Regions from separate parts of the Homo sapiens genome. Here all the other regions are linked to region 1. The links are contacts of gene promoters, found by promoter capture Hi-C in blood cells and fetal thymus (Javierre and others, 2016). All regions are on one chromosome and are shown on one strand. Each heading gives the region's core, a stretch centred on a gene start or on the middle of the fragment in contact. The rest is flanking DNA. Distances are from core to core; before and after follow the strand shown. Region 1 holds the start of ZRANB2-AS1 (ZRANB2 antisense RNA 1). Region 2 overlaps LRRC40 (leucine rich repeat containing 40). Region 3 overlaps LRRC40 (leucine rich repeat containing 40). Region 4 overlaps LRRC40 (leucine rich repeat containing 40). Region 5 holds the start of LRRC40 (leucine rich repeat containing 40). Region 6 overlaps SRSF11 (serine and arginine rich splicing factor 11). Region 7 overlaps ANKRD13C (ankyrin repeat domain 13C).

Region 1 (2,866 bases), core at 175-2,674:
GAGTTCCAACTCCTGGAATAAAGAACTGTGACCATACAGCGACTTGTGGGCAGTTAGGTCTCAGCATAACACTCCTTGTCCCCTCATGTCACTGATTTGGAGCCAAGGTTTGTGCTCCAATCTACCAAACCAGGTTAAAGAAATTACATTTCTATTTTCAAATGCAAGGGATTTAAAAGTATACATGGCGCACAAAAAACTCAACGTACTTAATGCCTAATGCCACTGAACTGTACACATAATAATGGTTAAAATACTGAATTGTATGTAATATATTTTACCATAATTAGGAAAGAAAAAAAACTGCGTTCACGTGTTTCAAAGGTTTTCCACAACTGTATAATACATATAGTTGGTTATACCTTTGTAACAGTGACCATATCGCTCTTTCTGCAACATCTATTAACCCAGACACCCCAGGGCCTAAGTAAGCATCCATTCTTCAGGAATTAGTAAACAGCACTTACACACGGACATTTCTAGCTAAAAGTAACACAGACAAAAAAACCTCAAAAATATCACGTAAGGGCAGGTGTTAGGCAAAGAGCCTCTGCAAACATCCCTTGCTCCTCTGCATTGCTCTGGTGTGAGGAGCTAGGACATGGAGAAACCTCTACCTCCTATCTCAGGATTAGCGAACCCTGCTTGAGTGCTACAAGGGTAAGTAAATGCTGGCCTGAAGAAGCTGCTGAGCTTCCGGATCCCACTGACTGTCGTTCGGGCACTTCCTAGAGGGTCAAGCACCATGGCGAAAGGCTGAGGAGGCAACTCGTATCTTTCATTCTCCTGCCTCATCAAGAATGAACCTTGAAGGCACCCATAGGTCGCGCAGTCTTTCAGAAGCTGCAGGAGGGCTGTGACTGTATGGGGTTGCAGACTGAAAATCTTATTAACGTGAAAGAGGAATTTGAAATTAAAAAAAAAAAACCCGGCCGGGCGCGGTGGCTCACGCTTGTAATCCCAGCACTTTGGGAGGCCGAGGCGGGTGGATCACGAGGTCAGGAGATCGAGACCACGGTGAAACCCCGTCTCTACTAAAAATAAAAAAAAAAAATTAGCCGGGCGTGGTGGCGGGCGCCTGTAGTCCCAGCTACTCGGAGAGGCTGAGGCAGGAGAATGGCGTGAACCCGGGAGGCGGAGCTTGCAGTGAGCCGAGGCTGCGCCACTGTACTCCAGCCTGGGTGACAGAGCGAGACTCCGTCTCAAAAAAAAAAAAAAAAAAAAACCCCACAATATCAGGCTACAGTTATCATAGCAATTCTGCTTTTAATGCACTCAGGACAAACTTCTAGCTCTGCATATATGTCATTTCAATGACACATCCTGTCTCCTACCCGACTAGAATGTGAGCAGCCCTGTGATCTCTATGTGCTCATAAACAGTGCCTAATGCGAATCCTGGCTCTTGGAAGGCGCTCAGCTAGTAAGTGAGGAGCTCAGCTCTGAAGCTGTAACCAAGACCGCGCGGGCAGGAGGAAAGGACACTTCAGCGCTCTGCGGTTGCAAACACACCCCTGCGGGTGCTGCCACTTAGCAAAGTCTTAGGTTCCCGCTTACTCGCACACGCATCCTGACTTCCCCCAACCCTGGAACTACCTACCAGGAGCGGAGACCAGCAGACCGACAGCACGCACATGATCCCCATAAGCTGAATGGCCGTCTCGGTCGTGATGCGGCCCCACTGGGCACTGGACTGAGATGCCGTGGCCTTGGCCCGGCAGCGGGACACCAGGGCCTTAATGGTGGCCAGGTTGCAGGAAAAGGTGACTGTCAGCGCCAAGAGCCCCAGGAAGGCAAAGGCAGAGGCGAAGAAAAGGTTGCCCCAGTTATGCGAAGAGCTAGTCCCGTTGCCCCCTCGCCCGGTGCTGATGAAGCACCACGTCCCGGGCCACTGGACGGTGTACTGGCCCACGCCCAGCACCGGCAGCAGGGCGAAGGCGAGCACGGCCAGCCACACGCCGAGCAGCACAGCGCGGGTGGCACGCGTCTTCATGTGGCTCGCATACCAGTGCGGCGCCCTGATGGCCAGCGCCCGCTCGACGGCCATGGCGCTGGCGATGAACAACGAGGAGAGCCCGAAAACAGTCATGGTCAGCCCGAAAAAGGTGCAGAGCCGCCCCGACGGGTCGATGTGCTCCCAACGCTGCTTGGACAGGTACACGACGATGACGACCGGGGTGGTGAGAAGCTGCCCGACCAGGTCGGTGAGCGCCAGCCAGCCGATGCACAGCAGGAAGGACTTCTTGCGCTTGCTCTCCCGGCGCCGGTAGCTGCGCGACACGAGCAGCATGGCCAGTGCGTTGCCCACGAAACCAGTGAGCAGCATGGTGATCGGGAAGGCCACGGACACCGATCCGCAATCCTCGCCAGACCCTGGAGGGCGCGTGAGGTTGCCCCGCGCCTCGGCGGAACGCTCGGGCGCCCACATGCCTGTGTAGGAGTGGTTGAGGCGGGTGCAGAAGGGGGCATCCCCTCCGTAGCCCCGGGTCTCCTTCATGTTGGCTTCGAGGTGAGGAGGGGATGGCGTCCAGAGAGCCGCAGCGGGAGGGGGCAGACGCGGCGCGGGCGGCGGCGGAGGTCGGCGTTTACCGCGGCTGGGGCTGGGCTGCCCCCCATGGTGCGGGGCGCAGCCGCCGCCCTACTCCGCTGCTGGGACCGCGGCCGCGGCGGCGCCAGGGCTCACTGGCCCGGGAGGGAGCCACGCCTTCCTCTCTGGGAAACCTCTGGTGGCGAGGCGCGCGGAGGTGCCGAGTCCCCTTTATAAGGCCGAGGGGGCGGGGCGCCCGTGGGTGTGGACAGAACCGAGGTGGGAGGAGGGTGCAAAGCAACTGAGCGCCTCTCTTGGCTGTTGCCTATCCTGATCGCCT
Region 2 (2,866 bases), core at 245-2,744, 900 kb before region 1:
TTAGGCTAGCTTTTGGCACTTCCCCAAAGACATTACTTGCAAGGCAATTGTTAGCTCAATTGACAACACAATATAAAACTGATAGCTCAATTCACAAGTAAAAATTAGGAGAGATGTGAGAAGTGCACATATTTTAAAATAATGACAATAATGGTGCAATCTATATACTAGAAAGGACAAGTAATGGAGCAGACAGAAGAAAAATTAAAATGAGCAATATTTTAACATCACTATGCATTAGCTTCCTCATCTATAAATGAGGAATAATAATAGTACTAAACATATACACTTGTTATAAGGATTAAATGAATGTATTTGAAGACCTTAGGACATTATCTAGGTTGCATTAAACATTAGCTGCTAATATTTTATTTTTTAAATTTTATTTATTTTTTGAGACAGAGTCTTGCTCTGTCGCCTAGGCTGGAGTGCAGTGACGCAATCCTGGATCACTGCAACCTCTGCCTCCTGGGGTTCAAGCGATTCTCCTGCCTCAGCCTCCTGAGTAGCTGGGTTTACAGGCCACCACCACGCCTGGCTAATTTTTGTATTTTTAGTAGAGATGGAGTTTCACCATATCGGCCAGGCTGGTCTCAAACTCCTGACCTCAGGTGATCCGCCCACCTCGGCCTTCCAAAGTGCTGGGATTACAGGTGTCAGTCACTGCACCTGGCCAGTTATTCATATTTTAATTAAATTGTTTTTAGAATCCATTTTCATCATAAGAAACAATGTGACATAGTTGTTAAGAGCCCAACTTCTGGAGCCAAACCACCTGGACTCAAATCTCAGCTGTATAATTTACTATTTATGCATACCTTAGATGAGTTATTTAGCTTCTAATCCTTGATTTTTAAATGAACACAGTAACAGAACCTACCATGTAGGGTTCTTGTAAGCCTGAGCTATTACATGTAAAGTACTTAGTACAGCACCAGCAGAATAATAAGCTCCCAATAAATATTAGTTGCTCTTAATTATCTGCAGTATCTTGATAGTGTTTGCAGAACAAAATCTAAGTTTCGTTGAGCACAAAAAGCTCAAGGTCTGGCTACTGCTTACTTGCCAGACTTTATCTGTTCCTTCTACTCCTCTACCTGTTTGCTTTATTGTCCAAAGCACATTGAACTTCTTGAAGTTTCCCAGACACCCCATATGTTCTCACATCTTTGTGCCTTGGCATATGCTATTAGCTCTAACTAGAATGCTCTCTACCTGAATGGCTGGCAAATGTCTATTTTTCAAACCTCAGTTTCAATGCTATCTCCTCTACCTTAAAGTAATCTCAGAAGACATTTTCCTGTGCACTATCCTTCCATTAGAGCAATTGTAATTATTTATTTTGTCTTTTTAGGCCACAGGTTTCTCAAAATGGTAAAAAGGAATGAAAAATATGTTAGACATCAACTATGAGAATTCTAAGAAAATAATATTTTTAACTCTAAGAAGAACTAAGTGAAAATAAAATCTGGATATTGAAATAAAGTAGAAGGGGCCTTTTTGTTTTTTTGGCTTTTGTTTTCTCCAATGAGAAAGATCTACATATTTCCACAGAATAACAATTAGAATTGTCTGTTCTCTTACCTATTAAAGGAAAGATTGATCGTTTGCAGTCTTACCAGTGATTCCATTTCTTCTGGCAAAGAATTTAAAAAATTGTTCCTAAATTGGAAATCAAAACAGAAGATTTACAAAGTTTGAAAAATTTTACAAGTTTAATTTATAATTAAAATATTGAGCAGGAAAAAAAAATATGTAGATCAGTTTGTCAATCCTTGATCTGACTTTATAAAGGCTGAGTTCTGAGAATTCTGAATCAGTCACCTACCGCAGTTATTCGGTTAGTATGCCAAATCCTAATAATACCAATATGCAACCAATTGATAATGCAATGAATTCTTTACAGGTTTAATAGTGATTACAGGGTAAACACTGTAAACTAATTAGCTCCTTCAAAGTGGGGTATTTAATATTTCCCCCATGTCTATAATACCACATAAATATTCCATTGGTGTTAATATATATGACACAGACATGAAATTCTACTCTAAGAGGAATTTAAAAATTATTTTAAAAATGAACCAAGAAGTTAAAAAGATTCTATTAAGAGATTTGGAGTTTTCTACTCCATAGGTATAAAGCAAATCTATTCCTACTCTAAGTTTAGAATTTAAATTTACACAATGACTATTTTTTTTTTTTAGCTCTTACAATGAAACATGGCAATAAACAAAATCTCATTTACTGTTGGAAAGATCTGGGAGCAATGTTAGAAGAAAAGTTAACAAAAAGGTAAAAGGATTTTAGGAGCCAATATAACTACTAATAATGAAAATACCTGTGAGAAAATTATTCCCAACTAGATGACTACCTATTACAAATAAATATTTTTCTCTAACCTATTTCTTTGTGTTCAGAAGTCAAGCCTAATATGTAAAGTCATACTTTCTACAGTACAAGCTATATTCTTTTTCTATATCTACATTCTCTGTACTTTTCTCCAGTTATTGTCTGCATTAAGTTGTGTTGAATAACCCACTCAGCTGGTTTTATACTATTTACTTTCAGAAAATAAACAATGTGAAAAAAATACTTTCCATGTCTTATTTGTAATTTTGCTTAGAATGGGTTAATATTTTCAGTAATTTTGTCTTATGACGTAACTTGTAAATTGCTTACAAATTATAAATGTCTGATTACAGTATTTTTCCTGAATTCTGTCTCGGGTTTCCTAAACACTATTTTTGGATTCTCCTAAACTATTGTTAATAAATAAAGGCCAGTTTCCATACATACCTAGGAAAATATGAGGTAAAAAGAATAAGTTAGACAAAACTCAAAGACAAGTTATAACTTTTTAAAAAGT
Region 3 (2,866 bases), core at 219-2,718, 880 kb before region 1:
GCCTTGGAAATGATTCTAATAGCAAACAGCAAATGAAGAAATAGCTGTTCAAGAAAATCTATGGAAATTTTGTAAGAGGTGAGTCTGTGGTATTTGAACCTAGACTGCTCCCTCTCTCCCCTCTTCTAGGTCAGAGAGGCAGAAACTCCACTCCAGAAGGCTACAACTGAGAACACAGGGTTCCCTCTCCCCCAACCCTCCAGCCCCAAACCCTATCTCCCAGCCAGAGGGCTTTCTTCCTGAGAGGAGTGTCAGCATTTCTCATCCTGCCACCAGCTTCCTGTTGCTAATGCTAAATCCCTGATGAGTAGGGTGAGGACTCCCTTCTTCCACTCTGGTCACATGCACAGAAAGGAGGCTCTACCTTGAGCTTGGCATGATGAGAATACTGGGGCCCTGACTGCTCTTCCCCTGGCTCATAAGTTGCTGGTTCAAAGAAAGGAGAGGCAAACCAAGAGAACCTAAGTCTATTGCTGACTCCTTCTACTGAGTGTTCAGCTCCTAGAGGAGAGTGTTACTCTTAGAGAAGCTTGCCATCTTCCATATTCCCAGCTTCACAGCCTGTGCTCAAAGATTTTGCCTGGGGGAGAAACAGGTCATAAAAACAGTTCCTAATCTCTTCCCAAGGGAACTGACTTCACTCACAACAAAGCATGAAAGCTCTCAAAAACAATGAAGGTTATGGTAAAAGGCAGTTGGGATGAAATTCCTGGATCTACTGAAGATACAGCCTAGACTGTATACAAGCAGACTGTACACAAGCTAGCTCACAGGAGAGAACCAAGGAATAAGACAACTACAGAAAAGCTGAGTGTCTATAACAGTATCAGGCAAAACAGACTCAAAACATTTTTTTATGTCAGGGGCACATTATAATGGAAATTTAACAACATATCCTTAAACAACCAATGGGCCAAAGAAGGTATCAAAAGAGAAATCATAAAATACTTTGAGATAAATGAAAATGACACAACATACCAAAACGTATGAGCTGTAGATAAAGCCATGCTTAGAGGGAAATTTTAGCTATAAATGCCTATGTCAAGAAACAAGATCCCAAAATCAATAACCTAACTTTCCACCCTAAGATACTAGAAAAAAAGAACAAACTAAACTCTGGAGTCCTGATGAGATAAGTAAGCAACAATGAAAAGGGGTCCCAGGTGGGGGAGAACAATTGTTCCAAGAGACAGCTAATCATAGACAACTCTAATCACAGACAACTTGCTGGCACAACATCCTGTTCCCAAATACCTCGCTCTGTACACAGCCCCAGCAGCAAGACCTCGTTCCACATAGCCCACTCCAAGCATGAACCTATAAAACTCCCCTCCAGCACCTGCCTCTTGGCAGACAGCCCCTTCTCTGCTGTGCTACTTGTTGCACCCTTGCAACATATCTTTGTACTTTCTCTAATAAATCTGCCTTTCTTTACTACAACTGTCTTGGTAAATTCTTTAACCACCCAGAACGCTGGCCCCAGTCAGTCACAACTGCAATAGAAACCTAAACCAATTAGAAGGAAATAAATAATTAGAGTGTTAATTAATGAAATAGAGAACAGAAAAACAATAGAGAAGATCAATGAAACTAAACGCTCATCCTTTGGAAAGTCAACAAAACTGACTAATATCCAGCTAGTGTGGCCTAGAAAAAAAGAGAGAAGACTCACATTACTAGAATCAGAAATGAAAGAGAGGACATTATTACTAACCTTACAAAAATGAAAAGGATAAACTATGGCAACTATATGCCAACAAATTAAACAACTCAGATAAAATGGACACATTCCTAGAAAGATAAAAACTACCAAAACTGACTCAAGAAGAAACAGACAATCTGAGTATATCTATAACACGTGAAGAGTAATAAAAAAAACCTAGCCACAAAGAGAAGCCCATGCCTAAATGGCTTCACTGCTGAATTCTACCAAACATTCAAAAAATTAATAACAACTCTTCATAAATTCACCCAAAAAACAAAATAGGAGGGAACATTTCCCAATTCATTTTATGATGCCATTATTAGGCTATCACCCAAACCAGAAACAAAAAAAAATCACAAGAAAACAACAGATGAATAACTCTCAAATTCTCAACAAAACACTAAAAAACAAATCTAGCAACATTTACAAAGAATTATACACCATTACTAAGTGGGATTTAACCATGGATGCAAGCTGATTTACCATCTGAAAATCAATTAAGGTAATACAGCATATTAACAGAATTTTTTAAATCACACGACCATCTCAACAGATGCAGAAAAAAAATTGACAAAAACTCAACAACTCTTTTAGGACAAACACACTCAAAAACCAGAAAGAGAAGGGAAATTCCTTAACATGATAAAGGGCATCTACAAAAAATCCACAGCTAACCTAATGTTACTTAACAATGAAAAACTAGAAGCTTTCCCCCAAAGATGTCCAGTCTCAGTCCTTCTATTCAGTACTGTCCTGGAGGGTCTAGCCAAAGGAATTAGGCAAGAAAAGGAATAAAAGGCATCCAGATTGGAAAGGAAGAAGTAAAACTATCTCTATTTGCAAACAACATAGTCTTGTATATAGAAAATCCAAAGGAATACATCAAAAAATTATTGGAACTAATAGTTTCATCAAGGTTTCAGGATACAAGATCAGCATTCAAAAATCATTGTATTCCTATACAGTTGCAAAGAACAGCACAAAAATGGAATTAAGAAAACAATTATATGCCTAATAGCATCAAAAGGAATAAAATGCTTAGAAATAAACAAGTATAAAACTTACAGTCTGAAAACTATAAAACATTGTTTAAAGAGATTAAAGATCTAAAATGGAAAAACATTCCATGCTCATGAATGGAAGACTTAATATTGTTAGGAT
Region 4 (2,866 bases), core at 265-2,764, 860 kb before region 1:
TGCTTATAATCAACTCTTGATTTGACATGCAATGTGATAGGACATACTAGACACTTAATTTGTTATACTGTGATATGCTTTGGTTGTGTCCCCACACAAATTTCATCTTGAATTGTACTCCCATAATTCCCACATGTTGTGTGAGGAACCTGGTGGGAGATAGTATGAATCATGGGAGCGGTTTCCCCCATACTGTTCTCGTGGTAGTGAATAAGTCTCATGAGTCCTGATGGTTTTATCAGGGGTTTCCAATTTTGCATCTTCCTCATTTTTCTCCTGCTGCTGCCATGTAAGAAGTGCCTTTTGCCTCCCACCATGATTCTGAGGCATCCCCAGCCATGTGGAACTGTAAGTCCAATTAAACCTCTTTTTCTTCCCAGTCTCGGGTATGTCTTTATCAGCAGCATGAAAACGGACTAATACATACTATAACTGACTTTCAGAATTTTGACAAAACTATATGCACACATATACCACAATGGAGTTACATCTTATATGTTCGGTTTTAAGGCAAAAATAGCTATTTCTGTTTGAGGACCTAGGATGTCAAGTTGAATGTAATATGGAATTCCACTCTTCTTCATACTTGGTCTTTTCAGTTAAGCCCTTCTGTAGAGATATTCAGTGTAATGGTTTAGAAGTCCCAAATCATGGAGGATGATAGACTTCATGATAATTAAGAGATGACTGAACTAGTTCCCAGGTTTATCACAACTTAAATACTCACTTACGAATTCCATGCTATTTTCATGCCATATACAGTTACTTTACAAATAACAGGGGGAAAATGGGAAATACAAGGTGCTTACAATAACCCTAAATTACAGTAAAATAAAACTAGTTGGGACAAAAAAAGTCAAATGATGTCTTCTAAAACAAGAACCAATAATATTGTTAAGTCGGTTACTGTTATTGGTTACCTAGCTGAAATCTTTGCACACTTGATAGGGATCTAACTGGGGAGAGAGATAATTTTAGCTATAGATTTCCTCCATCTCCTTTTCTTAGCTAATTACTCCATCCTAAGATTCATACTTTTTTTAAACTTCTTCACTGAGAACACACCTACATACTCTTAAGTATAGAATCTAAAGCTTAAGCCATGTCACTCAACACTTACTGCTTCCTCTCTTCCTCTCAACAATCCCCACTCTTGTCTTTACAGGCCACGTCTATGCCTTTGACTTGTAAGGGGAAGATACTGTGATGGAGTTCTAAATAATTAGCACCTTTTTATGTATATATATTTTCATTGGCCAATGGTAATTTTATGTTTTCCACCAAATAAGGAGTGTTACTGGGAGGGACTATTTTCCCTCAAACCAGTTAGCTTATCTCCAGAAAACAAACTTGACTATATTACATTACATAGATCTGTAACCGTATCTATTTTATAAGCCACAGTTTTTCAAACTATGCTTTAAGTTCCTGAACCATTTTTTTCTACTCCAAAATAAGACCTCTTTAAATCTCCTTTCCCATAGCCTATGTCTATATAACAAACAAAGGCAAAGTTATTCTTTCTTAAAAGTCTGGGTATGTATCAGAGAGCAAACAGAGTTAGCTACAATCTTTGCCACTGAACATCCCATGTACCAGTATGTCCATGACAGTTACAAAAATATATCCGTAGAATCCCAGGAGTCCTTGGAGAAGTTTAAAAACGACTACTAATAAAAACTATGAAGTATTTCATTTATGAAAGAATTGTTTTACATTTCTTCCTTATTGTTTAGATATTTTTAGAATATCAAGGTAACTTAAAAGTTGAGACATCAACAAAGAGGTTTACTACAATAACAAACCACTAAGAATTGTTTTATAAAAAAAAAAAAATTTAAGCATTTAAAAAAAATCAACTAGCCTTGCATTTATAAAATCAGAAATGATGGGGGTAATGCTAAAACAAAGAAAAAAACATACAAACTAAGAATTAAAGCTTTAAAAAACTTAAAATTCTTATTCTGCTTTAACTACTTTCTGAGATAATTCAAAGATATTTTTAATGTTGAGAAAATTTAAAGAATATTAGATTTAAACCATTATAAGGGCAATAATATAAGTAAATAAGCTTAATTTTTACCTGACATTAAGTTTCTGAAGATTTTCTAGCTCTCTTATAGCAGAAGGAAGGGATGTCAACTGATTATCATGTATCTAAAAGTTTTTAAAAGACAAAGTCAATATTCTTAGTCTTATCATTAACAATATATAAGCTTTGCCAGTGTACAAAACTATTAGTCAGTAATCTCCTGTTCCTCAAATTCAATGGCAACAAGTTGAACTACTGTTCAACATACTTGTTCTGTATGTAGAACAGTTTGAAGATGACCAAACGGCTGTTCAGAAATCATGAAGTAAGGCCAGGTGCAGTGGCTCACACCTGTAATCCCAGCACTTTGGGAGGCCGAAGAAGGCAAATCGCTTGTACCCAGGAGTTTGAGACTAGCCTAGGCAAATTAGTGAGACCTTGTCTCTACAAAAAAAAAAAAAATTCTTATTAGTCAGGCGTAGTGGCGCACACCTGTAGCCCCATCTACTCAGAAGGCTGAGGTGGGAAGATTGCTTGAGCCTAGGAGGTCAAGGCTGCAGTGAGCCCACATTGTGCCACTGCACTCCAGCCTGGGCTACAGAGTGAGACCCTGTCTCAAAAAATGGAAGAGAAGAGAAGAGAAGAGAAGAGAAGAGAAGAGAAGAGAAGAGAAGAGAAGAGAAGTCATGAAGTGTTAAGTCAACCACTTTAAATATTATACTAAGAAAAATTTCAACTCATTAGTAGAGTTTCAATTTCAAAGAAGAGATGAGGGGGTTAGAAACTAAAAACAGCTCTCTGATGATATGATTTATGTCAATATATACAAAAATT
Region 5 (2,866 bases), core at 216-2,715, 840 kb before region 1:
CAGACGAAACCACCTGAGTCTAGTCAATAAGTACATTCTAGCACACCACTTATGATTTGAGAATACTCATTCACTTACTTATTGCTTCCGCAAAATTTAATAAGACTCTACTATGTACCAAGCACTATTTTCAGTGATAGAAATACAACAAAGCACAAAACAAAGCTCACTGACTTCATGATATTAACCTTTTGGTTGGAGGGCAGAGAAAACAAAAAACATAAATGATATAAATTCTGATAGTGATAAATGCTGTTAAAAAATTAAACAGGTAAGAGAACAGAATGTTAGCATGATAGGTATGCAAGTTTAGAGAAAAATGTTTCAGGTTTTGGGGAAACCAAGTAGATATATATATATGCACAACTGTAGTTTGAAAATGAGTATGTTCCCATTGATCAAAAACTCTTTTAGGTGGAGTAAGGATTCTGTGTCTTTTCATTCATTCAGAAGCATTTGCTTGCCTAATCTACTTTATACATGTCACAATAAGAAAGCAATCATTAGAAGGAAAATGGAAGGTTTTAATCAGTCTTAAAACCTAAATATAAATGAAGAAAAACATTACAGGAAAAATGCTCTATTTCTCCATCTCTCCATTCCCCTCCCTCTCTCTCTTACACACACACACACACACACACACACACGACAATCAGAAGAGCATCTGGCCATTCATTCATGGTACCCAGATTTGTGCTTCTTGGTCTTTAACAGGTTTCTCAGGATGTCCCCACATTCAAACACTCTGTGTGGCATCTATCCTGATCTTCAACTTAGAAAATATACTCATTATTCCTTGTAAGTAGAACTCTGCACAGCTGCATACAGAAGAGCGTCTCGGCAGGGAACAGTGCAGGTTCACAAAGGGGCCGATAAAACATATAATTTTAGCTTTGGTAATTGCCCTTGAAGATTACAATAAGAGGAGGAAAATAAGGGCCAAAGAAACAAAAGATTTGCCCGTGATTTGATAGCTGGTTTCGTCACATATTATGTTGCTTATCCCACAGAATGTGGGAATCCCAGAAAGCGCCCCGTTTAAATTTAGACCGTATTTTTAGCAGGGTCCCTTTAACAGAGATTGCGGGAACCTGGGAAGGAACTGAACTGGGCTAACCAAACCGGTCGAAATGAGCACAGGGATTAGATTAGAGCACAGAAATTCTGGCTAGCAGTCTGAGAAAGGGGGCCAAAGCCAGCCCAGAGAAAAGGGAGGTTGCCTGGGCCAAAGGCTTTCTGACAGGAGACACAATAGGGTCGTACCTCTGGGTCTTACCTTCACTGAGGTTTCTACCCGACAGGTTTAACTGGCCGCTCTTCCTCGCTGCCTTCAACAGCCCTTGGGGTACCGAGGTACCGCAGTCTCTTCCACCTGCTTTGAAACCAGCGCGGAGATCCTGCCCCGCTATCCGCTTCAGGCGCGACATGTTCAAAGTCCTAGGTCCAGAAGCTGCAGCCCCACCCGTGACGCTTAAAGGTGGCGCCGTTGGGATGCCCCGCTCCTTTCGTGAGCGCGCGCTCTGGGCGCTGGGCTCGCGGCCTCGCGCTGGGCCTTCACTCTCTGCGGCGCAGTCCAGATGTCGTCAGCACCAGCGCCTGGGCTGGAGGACAGAGAAGCCTTTTCCGTTGCCGGTGCCGGCCTAGCGTCCTGGAATTACTTCAATCAAGTAAGTGCGTTTAACGGGCTTAAGAGGGGCTTTCGGGTTTATTGTTTGCACTGTTACTGCGACTCCAACCTTCTCCTCTGTGCTTCCACCGTGGCGAGGGTGTGGGGAAAGAGAACCCTCTCTTCTCCCCTCTCCTAGTCTGAACGTGGGCCTTGACTAAAACTTGAGATCTGGGCGCGGTCGGCAGCGTTTCTGGACCCCAGCCTGTGTTTGTCGCTTGTGGTGGTGGCGCCAGACCTCTGGCGTACGGAGTAAAAGAAATTTTCTGTTCTTAAGGCTTGTACTCTGACACCATTCTCGTTGTATTGAGGGTATATAGCTTACCCAGCAAAGGAGGTAATGTGAAATGGAAGGACTGGCAACATAGAAGACAAAAACAAAAATCCTTAAAATTTAATAAATGTTCTGTGTATCAGACAGTTTAGGGAGACAAGTAGTGGTACATGCTTTAGTGAAGCTCAGACAGCTTGGATTTTTGAGCCCTAAAAAGCAAGTTCAAATCTCAGCTGCTTCTTTACTTTAGAAACTGTTAACTTTAGGCAGTTTACTCAACCGCTTTTAAAGCTCATTCCTTTTTTTCATTACTTTGGGGATAATTCCTACCGCATAAGGTTTTTGAAATAAGTGAAGATAAAAACTAGAATCTTGAGCTCTCGGTGAGTCCAGAATAATAGCAAATGAAAATTTTGTTCAATGTAAGTCGGTGTTTCCTAGGAAATTAAAATTTTCATCTGAAATGTACAACTTCTTGATTCAACAAGTAATTATTAAGATTAATCCTGCCTAGTATGTGTACTATCCTGGGTGCTAGACTTTTCTTTTGCCTGAAATGATTTTGTTTTAAAAGCATATGCCAGGGAATACCATTCTAACCCCCATCAAGTCTACTGAGGATTGGTAGAATAGTTGAAAGCTAGGATGAAGGCCCTTTGATCAATTCTTCATCACGCACTTTTACCTGAGTCCAGGTTATTGCTACCTGTAAAATTCGGTTTTTAACTCTACCCTTTTTGTTCTTATTTCTGTGGAGTCCTTTACACTAATATCGAACAAGAGAAAGTTACCAATAGTTGTTACCCTACTAAAAAAGCAAAGAGTGGATTTTTGTCTTTTTTTTTTTTTTTTTTTTGAGACAAAGTCTGGTCTGTCGCCTAGGCTGGAATGCAGTGGCGTGATCCCGGCTCACTGCAACCTCCGCC
Region 6 (2,866 bases), core at 116-2,615, 820 kb before region 1:
TTTTGTTTTTTTAACTATAAGTTTCAATACACTAATCTGACTGGCACAAGTTGCATATAGTTCCCAGTGGTCCACAGGGTTCATCATTCCAAAAATATTTATTCATAACATTGAATGGCTCAGATTACATAAAATTCTATCTGTTGTGAACAGGTCACCTGATTGTAACTATTATCTACACAGTTGGCCTTCTTCATCTCTGGGTTCCACATCCATGGATTCAGCCCACTGTGAATTGAAAATATAAGGAGAGAACGTCTGTACTGAACATGTACAGACTTTTTTCTTGTCATTCCCTAAACAGTACAGTATAGCAACTATTTACATTGTATTAGGTATTATAAGTAATCACGAGATTTAAAGTATGCAAGAGGATGTGCACAGGTAATATGCCATGATTTTATTTTTCCTCCACCTCTTCCCCCTCCCTGCATCATGTTATATAAGAGACTTGAGCATCTGTGGATTTTGTTATCTGCAGGGAGTCCTGAAACCATGGATACTGAGGGAAAACTATATGATTTCCCCCAAGAAGGCAGTGACATGCACCTGTAACTCTTTTTCCCCTAGACATATCTGTGACATGCTTAACTACTTTTATTTTTCCGATGTCACCTTAATCAGAGAAAACTTCCCAGACCACCCTATGTAAAATAAAGCACCTCTGCTGCTGCTTTATTCTCCTTAACACTACTTTTTTTCTATAGCACCTGTCACCAGTTGACAGGTTAAGTTTAACAACTTCTCTCCTGTAGAATATGAGGTGCTTTAAAATACATGTATGACTGAACCTCACCCACACCTACTGAAGCTCTTCATTTCGGTTCTGAATGCCTATTTTGGGGAAACATTTCTGGGATTATGACAGACATTTCAATGACAACCTGCTCTAGGAGGTTTCCTGCATTGTCATTGTTAAGTCCATCTATTTATTCCTTCTTTTAAACCAGAATTTCTGGCCTGTAATTTTACTGAGAAATAGAAATACTATCTTTACAATAGGTGATATTCTAACTGTCTCTACAGCATGATGGCTTTGCAGGTATTTGAAAGTTGAACCCCACATATACTCTTTGTTAAACTGTTATTTTGATTCTGGTTGTTTCTGAAATGCGTACTGGAAATGCAGCATTGTTTGAATATCTATTGTGTGTGAGTTGCTTTCTAAATGTACCTTAATCCTTACAAACCTGGAGGAAAAAAATGTTTTTGACCCTGTTTTACAAGTTCGTGAACTGAAATTTACATAGGTATTTTTTGTATGCCCAAGCCATACTGCCAATGTCAGAACTAGAACTTGAACCCAAGTTGTGACTCTCCTTTACCACTTGATCAGGAGTTTGCTGATTTAGCCAAGTAACTTGTAAGATCTTCACATGCTTTCTTTTAGTGGGATTGCCCAGCAAAGTGCTTATCAGGTGATGATCCCAGTGAAGTATGTCACAGTTATGCAGTAACTTAAGGCTGCTGTAATACGGAGATACATTGAAGTTCATTAGTAACTTTTCAGTGACCCAAAATGGATACTTTAATGGTTATATAAGTATAAATTAGTATATTAGGTAAGGGAAAGAGTTTAGTGCACCTTTAAAGAAAAAATGGTTTTAATTGATGCACCATTTTATTGTATATTTCTTTACATAGTGAGAAGGGGGCACATGAGGTCAGCAGTCAAGTTTTCAGGTTAATGTCGTCTTTGTCACACACCTCCTTTTGTGGGTTGGCGATACTTTTATTTATGAGCTCGAAATTCTCCACTTAGCACACTATTAAGGTGGAAATTGGAAGGCTGATATCAGTGGCCTAAACCTGAAGTTCTCGTACGTTAGTAGGCATGAATACCTTGTTAAGAATCTGGGCCTTCATGTAAAAAAGATTCTCTACAGACCCTTAGGTGAACAACGGAAATCTCAGGTTTTCTCTCTGTAGTCTAGAAGATTCTGAAATAGCCCTCAGAGGACACGTAAGAACTGTTAAAAACTACACCACCGCTCTTAGTTGGAGGACAGAAGTGGCATGCAGGACTCACTTTACCCTATCTTGTTCCTCATTTCTCCCTACTTTATATTAATTCTAAAGAGATACGGAGTAAAATATGTGTCGTATTTGGAAGCAGTACTTCCACAGAATTTTAGAGCACAAAAATTAATTTCAGGCATCAGTCCTCTATCTTATATTAACATATTATCTTATTAAGATAAATTTTATTAGGAGGCTGAGGCGGGTGGATCACCTGAGGTCAGGAGTTCAAGACCAGCCTGACTAACATGGTGAAACCCCATCTCTGCTAAAAATAGAAAAATTAGCCGGACGTGGTGGCGTGTGCGTGTAATCCCAGCTACTTGGGAGGCTGAGGCAGGAGAATCGCTTGAACCTGGGAGGTGGAGGTTGCGGTGAGCCGAGATCGTGCCATTGCGCTCCAGCCTGAGCAACAAGAGTGAAACTCCATCTCAAAAAAAAAAAAATTTTAATCGAAAAAATGTTAAGAATGTAATTGTGGGCCCAGATACCATCAAAAACTTGTTTTAAACCCATCTAAAGGAGGCCATTTGAAGTGGAGAGAGATGAAATTATATTTCTTATTCACAGTATTCAAATTCATATTTAATCTGTACCCTACCATCACTTAACAGGTTTTGATATAGCCAAAATAATTGGAGCATTCCTATGCCATTAATGAGTAGGAAAAAAAATATGAGTCACTTTAAGGTTGCCAAGTATAAAGAATACAATTTGAGCACGGGGGCAGTACTTTTTTTCCTAAAGAACTATTTATTAAAAATATCATATTTGGGAGTCATTTCTTTTAATAAGATAACAATAAAAAGTGTTAAAAGAATTGGTAGAGGTCAGTTTTAAGAAGTGT
Region 7 (2,866 bases), core at 217-2,716, 790 kb before region 1:
TCCTAGGCCTTCACATTCACTCACTACTCTCTCACTGGCTCACCTAGAGCAATTTCCAGTCCTGCAAGTTCCATTTATGCTAAGTGCCCTATACAAGTGTACCATTTTTTATCTTTCTGTATCATTTTCTTACTGTAGTTTTTCTATGTCTAGATACACAAATATAATGTAAGTACAATTTGTGTAATGCACAAATTGTGTTAAAATTGCCCACAGTACTCAGTACAATAATACGCTGAACAGTAATATGCTGAACCAGCTTGTGGTCTCGGAGCAATAGGCTTTATTGTATAGTCTAGGTGAGTGGTATGCTATACCACCTAGGTTTGTGTAAGTACACCCAATATGGTTCTCACAATGACAAAATCACCTGATGCATTCCACAGAACATGTACCCATCATTAAGTGACACACAACTGTATTTAGAACATCCCAATTACTGTCATCCTTCTTTAGTCATCAAGAACTCTATGTATGGGAGGTACAGGTAAATAAGTGGTGGGTTTTATCTTTTTGGTTTTATGTTAGACAATATTTCTACTCTAATTAAAGTCATTTTCACCGCAAAACATGATGAAAACCAAGAATGATTAACAAGCACCTTTCTTAGAAGTTCTTAAGATTTTGCTTCAATATTTTTCAGTGTGTGGAAAAAGCAAAATTGTAATTCTATGTACCATAGGTACCATTATGACTGAAAGTATTACTCTTCTAAAATGAACTGTAACAATTAAAAAGCTCATCACAAGGTAAGCTCACTCTGTAAGGATGGTTTGCATGATGTAAAAAATGTGATTCTTAACATGTTATGAAATTTTTAGGTGGCAACCAGAGTTAGTTACTATTGCCCCAGATTTCTGACATAAAATGCTTTGCAAGAGTAGTTTTGGCTAATTTATAGTATACAAACAATCATGGGCTTTTACCAAGCTTAGTTCTGCTATCTATCTTTACAAGTGACTTAATACCTCCTGTCCATTTCTCTAGTGGGGGCAAGTTTTACACCAGTTGCTTTTCTCTAGCATGTTTGTAAATATGGGTAATATCAATGAGCAGAAGGAAGCACCTTTAATTCAGCAGTTAAACACAGGTTTGGACTGCACAGGTCCACTTACATGCAGATTTTCAACTGAACCCCTAACCTCCATGTTGTTCAAGGGTCAGCTGTACTTATTTACAATATTTACTTCAGTCCTTTCATGGCCTGGAAACAGGATCTTTGTCTTCTGCAGACTTAGGGAAAACTAGGAAGAGGGCTCATTAAATAATCATTATTCATCACCCTCCCCCAGTGTGTGAATAATAAACTGTATGTGAATACTACTATAAAAACCCATTTTTATTAGCATGAGTGGGGCTTAATTCCAGTTCTGAGCAGAAGGAAACAGTTTTTCATCTACTAACATGTATCAGCAGACAGATGTGACAGTTTCCAAACCATCATCTGTACTTCTTATACTCACAAAAATCAGGGCATCTACTTCATACTACCCTTTTATGAAGTTTGGCAATTCTCTGTATGTGAATATCTACAGAGGGCAAATTGTCTCATCAGAGAATTATTTTCTCAAAGATGGAAACCATATCTTCTCTGGATACCATACCAGTGGGCAAGAATATTAACCATTTCTAAATGGCTATTGAAGATGACTATACGATTGTCCCCCTACCAATTTAAACAGTTTCAAAATCACAAATGGAGAAGAACATATAGAATTTTGTGTACCTACATTGCAAAATCTTGATTTTTCATGTGGTATTATGAAAACATATGGTGTTTTGACTTATTCATTTGAAACACTGCATATAGCTTCATTCATTAACTGGATTAAAAGGCACATTTCGAAAAATCTTCATTAAAAGTAATACTGTGAAAAGTTTATTTGCATCGATTAATTCCTTTTTTTCACCATCATAAGAGATATTGACATTTGTTTGCTCTTTGTGATCAGAGAAAAGACATTTTGGAATGGATAATCTGTTTCTACCATTCTTTAAAGAAAAAAGCTTTAAAAACAAAATTCAAGTGCAAAAATTTCCAGTAGTCTTCCTACCTCCAGTGTACCCCAGCAAAATATTCATAGCTGTGCTGTTAGGAAATTAATCAACCATAAGCTTCAATTACCCACTTTTTTTCTTCCCTAAGGTGTCTGTACTTATGAAAACATATATAGCATATTCCTGAAAGTATACCATATTCCTACAAAGTAAGGGAGCCTAGAAGCAACAGTGATCACTGCCTTTCAGTGTCTCCAACCCCATGTAACCACTGATAGGATAATTCAGTCTCTAAGTCATTTGATCTACCCATTTCCTAAATAACAGCGATCAACTTCTATTCAACAAAGCTAGTCTGGGTTTACTAACACGTTCCCCCAAAATTCAATAGGTCCATGTAACGTAGTAATTAGGTCTTTCAATTTTTTACTATGATTATTTTTCTTCATTATAAAATGTATTTAATGTCAACATACGCAATGCATGTATCAGTATGGAAGATGCAGCTTTAAAGATGTTTATTTAAAATTTTTCTTACGGTTTATGCTTTGGATTTTTAAATCATATTTTCAATAAGGGTCTCTAAACTCCTTTCAAATTACCTAAAATCCTGAAAAAAGTTTAAGCTACTGGTCAGTCTAAAAAACTTGACAGATGCATTCTTGAGACATTCATCAGGATACATTTTAAAAACATCAATCTAAGTAAGCTCTTTAATACAACATGATACTTTATAACTGTTATACATTAATCCCCCTAATTTATTTTCATACTTGGACCTTCAAACCACCTTGGAATAAATAAGAAAAATTTTAAGTGCAAAAATGAGTAATACATGATTTTATCACTTTGGAGACAATGAAATCAA

Evidence for each region. Contacts are between HindIII fragments. The CHiCAGO score rates a contact against its expected background, and 5 or more counts as called.
Region 2: a contact is called between a fragment that was not itself captured here and the fragment with the promoter of ZRANB2-AS1 in region 1, in 4 of 17 cell types (activated CD4 T cells, naive CD8 T cells, total B cells and 1 more). The highest score is 5.8, in activated CD4 T cells.
Region 3: a contact is called between a fragment that was not itself captured here and the fragment with the promoter of ZRANB2-AS1 in region 1, in 2 of 17 cell types (naive CD4 T cells and total CD8 T cells). The highest score is 5.8, in naive CD4 T cells.
Region 4: a contact is called between a fragment that was not itself captured here and the fragment with the promoter of ZRANB2-AS1 in region 1, in 2 of 17 cell types (total CD4 T cells and total CD8 T cells). The highest score is 7.1, in total CD4 T cells.
Region 5: a contact is called between the fragment with the promoter of LRRC40 here and the fragment with the promoter of ZRANB2-AS1 in region 1, in 15 of 17 cell types (naive CD8 T cells, total B cells, total CD8 T cells and 12 more). The highest score is 22.5, in naive CD8 T cells.
Region 6: a fragment that was not itself captured here is called in contact with the fragment with the promoter of ZRANB2-AS1 in region 1 in 4 of 17 cell types (naive CD4 T cells, naive CD8 T cells, total CD4 T cells and 1 more); the score reaches 8.4 in naive CD4 T cells.
Region 7: a fragment that was not itself captured here is called in contact with the fragment with the promoter of ZRANB2-AS1 in region 1 in 5 of 17 cell types (total CD8 T cells, naive CD8 T cells, fetal thymus and 2 more); the score reaches 7.3 in total CD8 T cells.

Annotation. Positions count from the first base shown.
Region 1 is chr1:71,045,082-71,047,947 of GRCh38, forward strand. It overlaps ZRANB2-AS1 (ZRANB2 antisense RNA 1), which reads left to right and starts at 1,425. Exons shown (of 3, transcript NR_038420.1): 1 at 1,425-2,508. PTGER3 (prostaglandin E receptor 3) reads right to left here and starts at 2,735. Exons shown (of 4, transcript NM_198719.2): 1 at 1,600-2,735. The coding sequence starts at 2,496. RefSeq lists an enhancer at 2,149-2,732. The HindIII fragment of the contact is 6,286 bases long and covers 1-2,866 here.
Region 2 is chr1:70,149,544-70,152,409 of GRCh38, forward strand. LRRC40 (leucine rich repeat containing 40) reads right to left here. Exons shown (of 15, transcript NM_017768.5): 13 at 1,585-1,662. Among named protein-coding and RNA genes, the nearest start is that of LRRC40, 55 kb to the right of the region's middle. The HindIII fragment of the contact is 7,254 bases long and covers 1-2,866 here.
Region 3 is chr1:70,167,912-70,170,777 of GRCh38, forward strand. The region is part of intron 9 of LRRC40 (leucine rich repeat containing 40); the gene reads right to left. Among named protein-coding and RNA genes, the nearest start is that of LRRC40, 36 kb to the right of the region's middle. The HindIII fragment of the contact is 1,882 bases long and covers 528-2,409 here.
Region 4 is chr1:70,185,182-70,188,047 of GRCh38, forward strand. It overlaps LRRC40 (leucine rich repeat containing 40), which reads right to left. Exons shown (of 15, transcript NM_017768.5): 3 at 2,084-2,157. Among named protein-coding and RNA genes, the nearest start is that of LRRC40, 19 kb to the right of the region's middle. The HindIII fragment of the contact is 845 bases long and covers 1,093-1,937 here.
Region 5 is chr1:70,204,114-70,206,979 of GRCh38, forward strand. It overlaps LRRC40 (leucine rich repeat containing 40), which reads right to left and starts at 1,466. Exons shown (of 15, transcript NM_017768.5): 1 at 1,277-1,466. The coding sequence starts at 1,427. It also overlaps a transcript of SRSF11 not described here. RefSeq lists enhancers at 1,060-1,119, 1,380-1,689. The HindIII fragment of the contact is 8,465 bases long and covers 1-2,866 here.
Region 6 is chr1:70,223,740-70,226,605 of GRCh38, forward strand. The region is part of intron 1 of SRSF11 (serine and arginine rich splicing factor 11); the gene reads left to right. Among named protein-coding and RNA genes, the nearest start is that of SRSF11, 3.8 kb to the left of the region's middle. The HindIII fragment of the contact is 3,911 bases long and covers 1-2,866 here.
Region 7 is chr1:70,258,736-70,261,601 of GRCh38, forward strand. It overlaps ANKRD13C (ankyrin repeat domain 13C), which reads right to left. Exons shown (of 13, transcript NM_030816.5): 13 at 264-2,866. Among named protein-coding and RNA genes, the nearest start is that of SRSF11, 39 kb to the left of the region's middle. The HindIII fragment of the contact is 1,077 bases long and covers 929-2,005 here.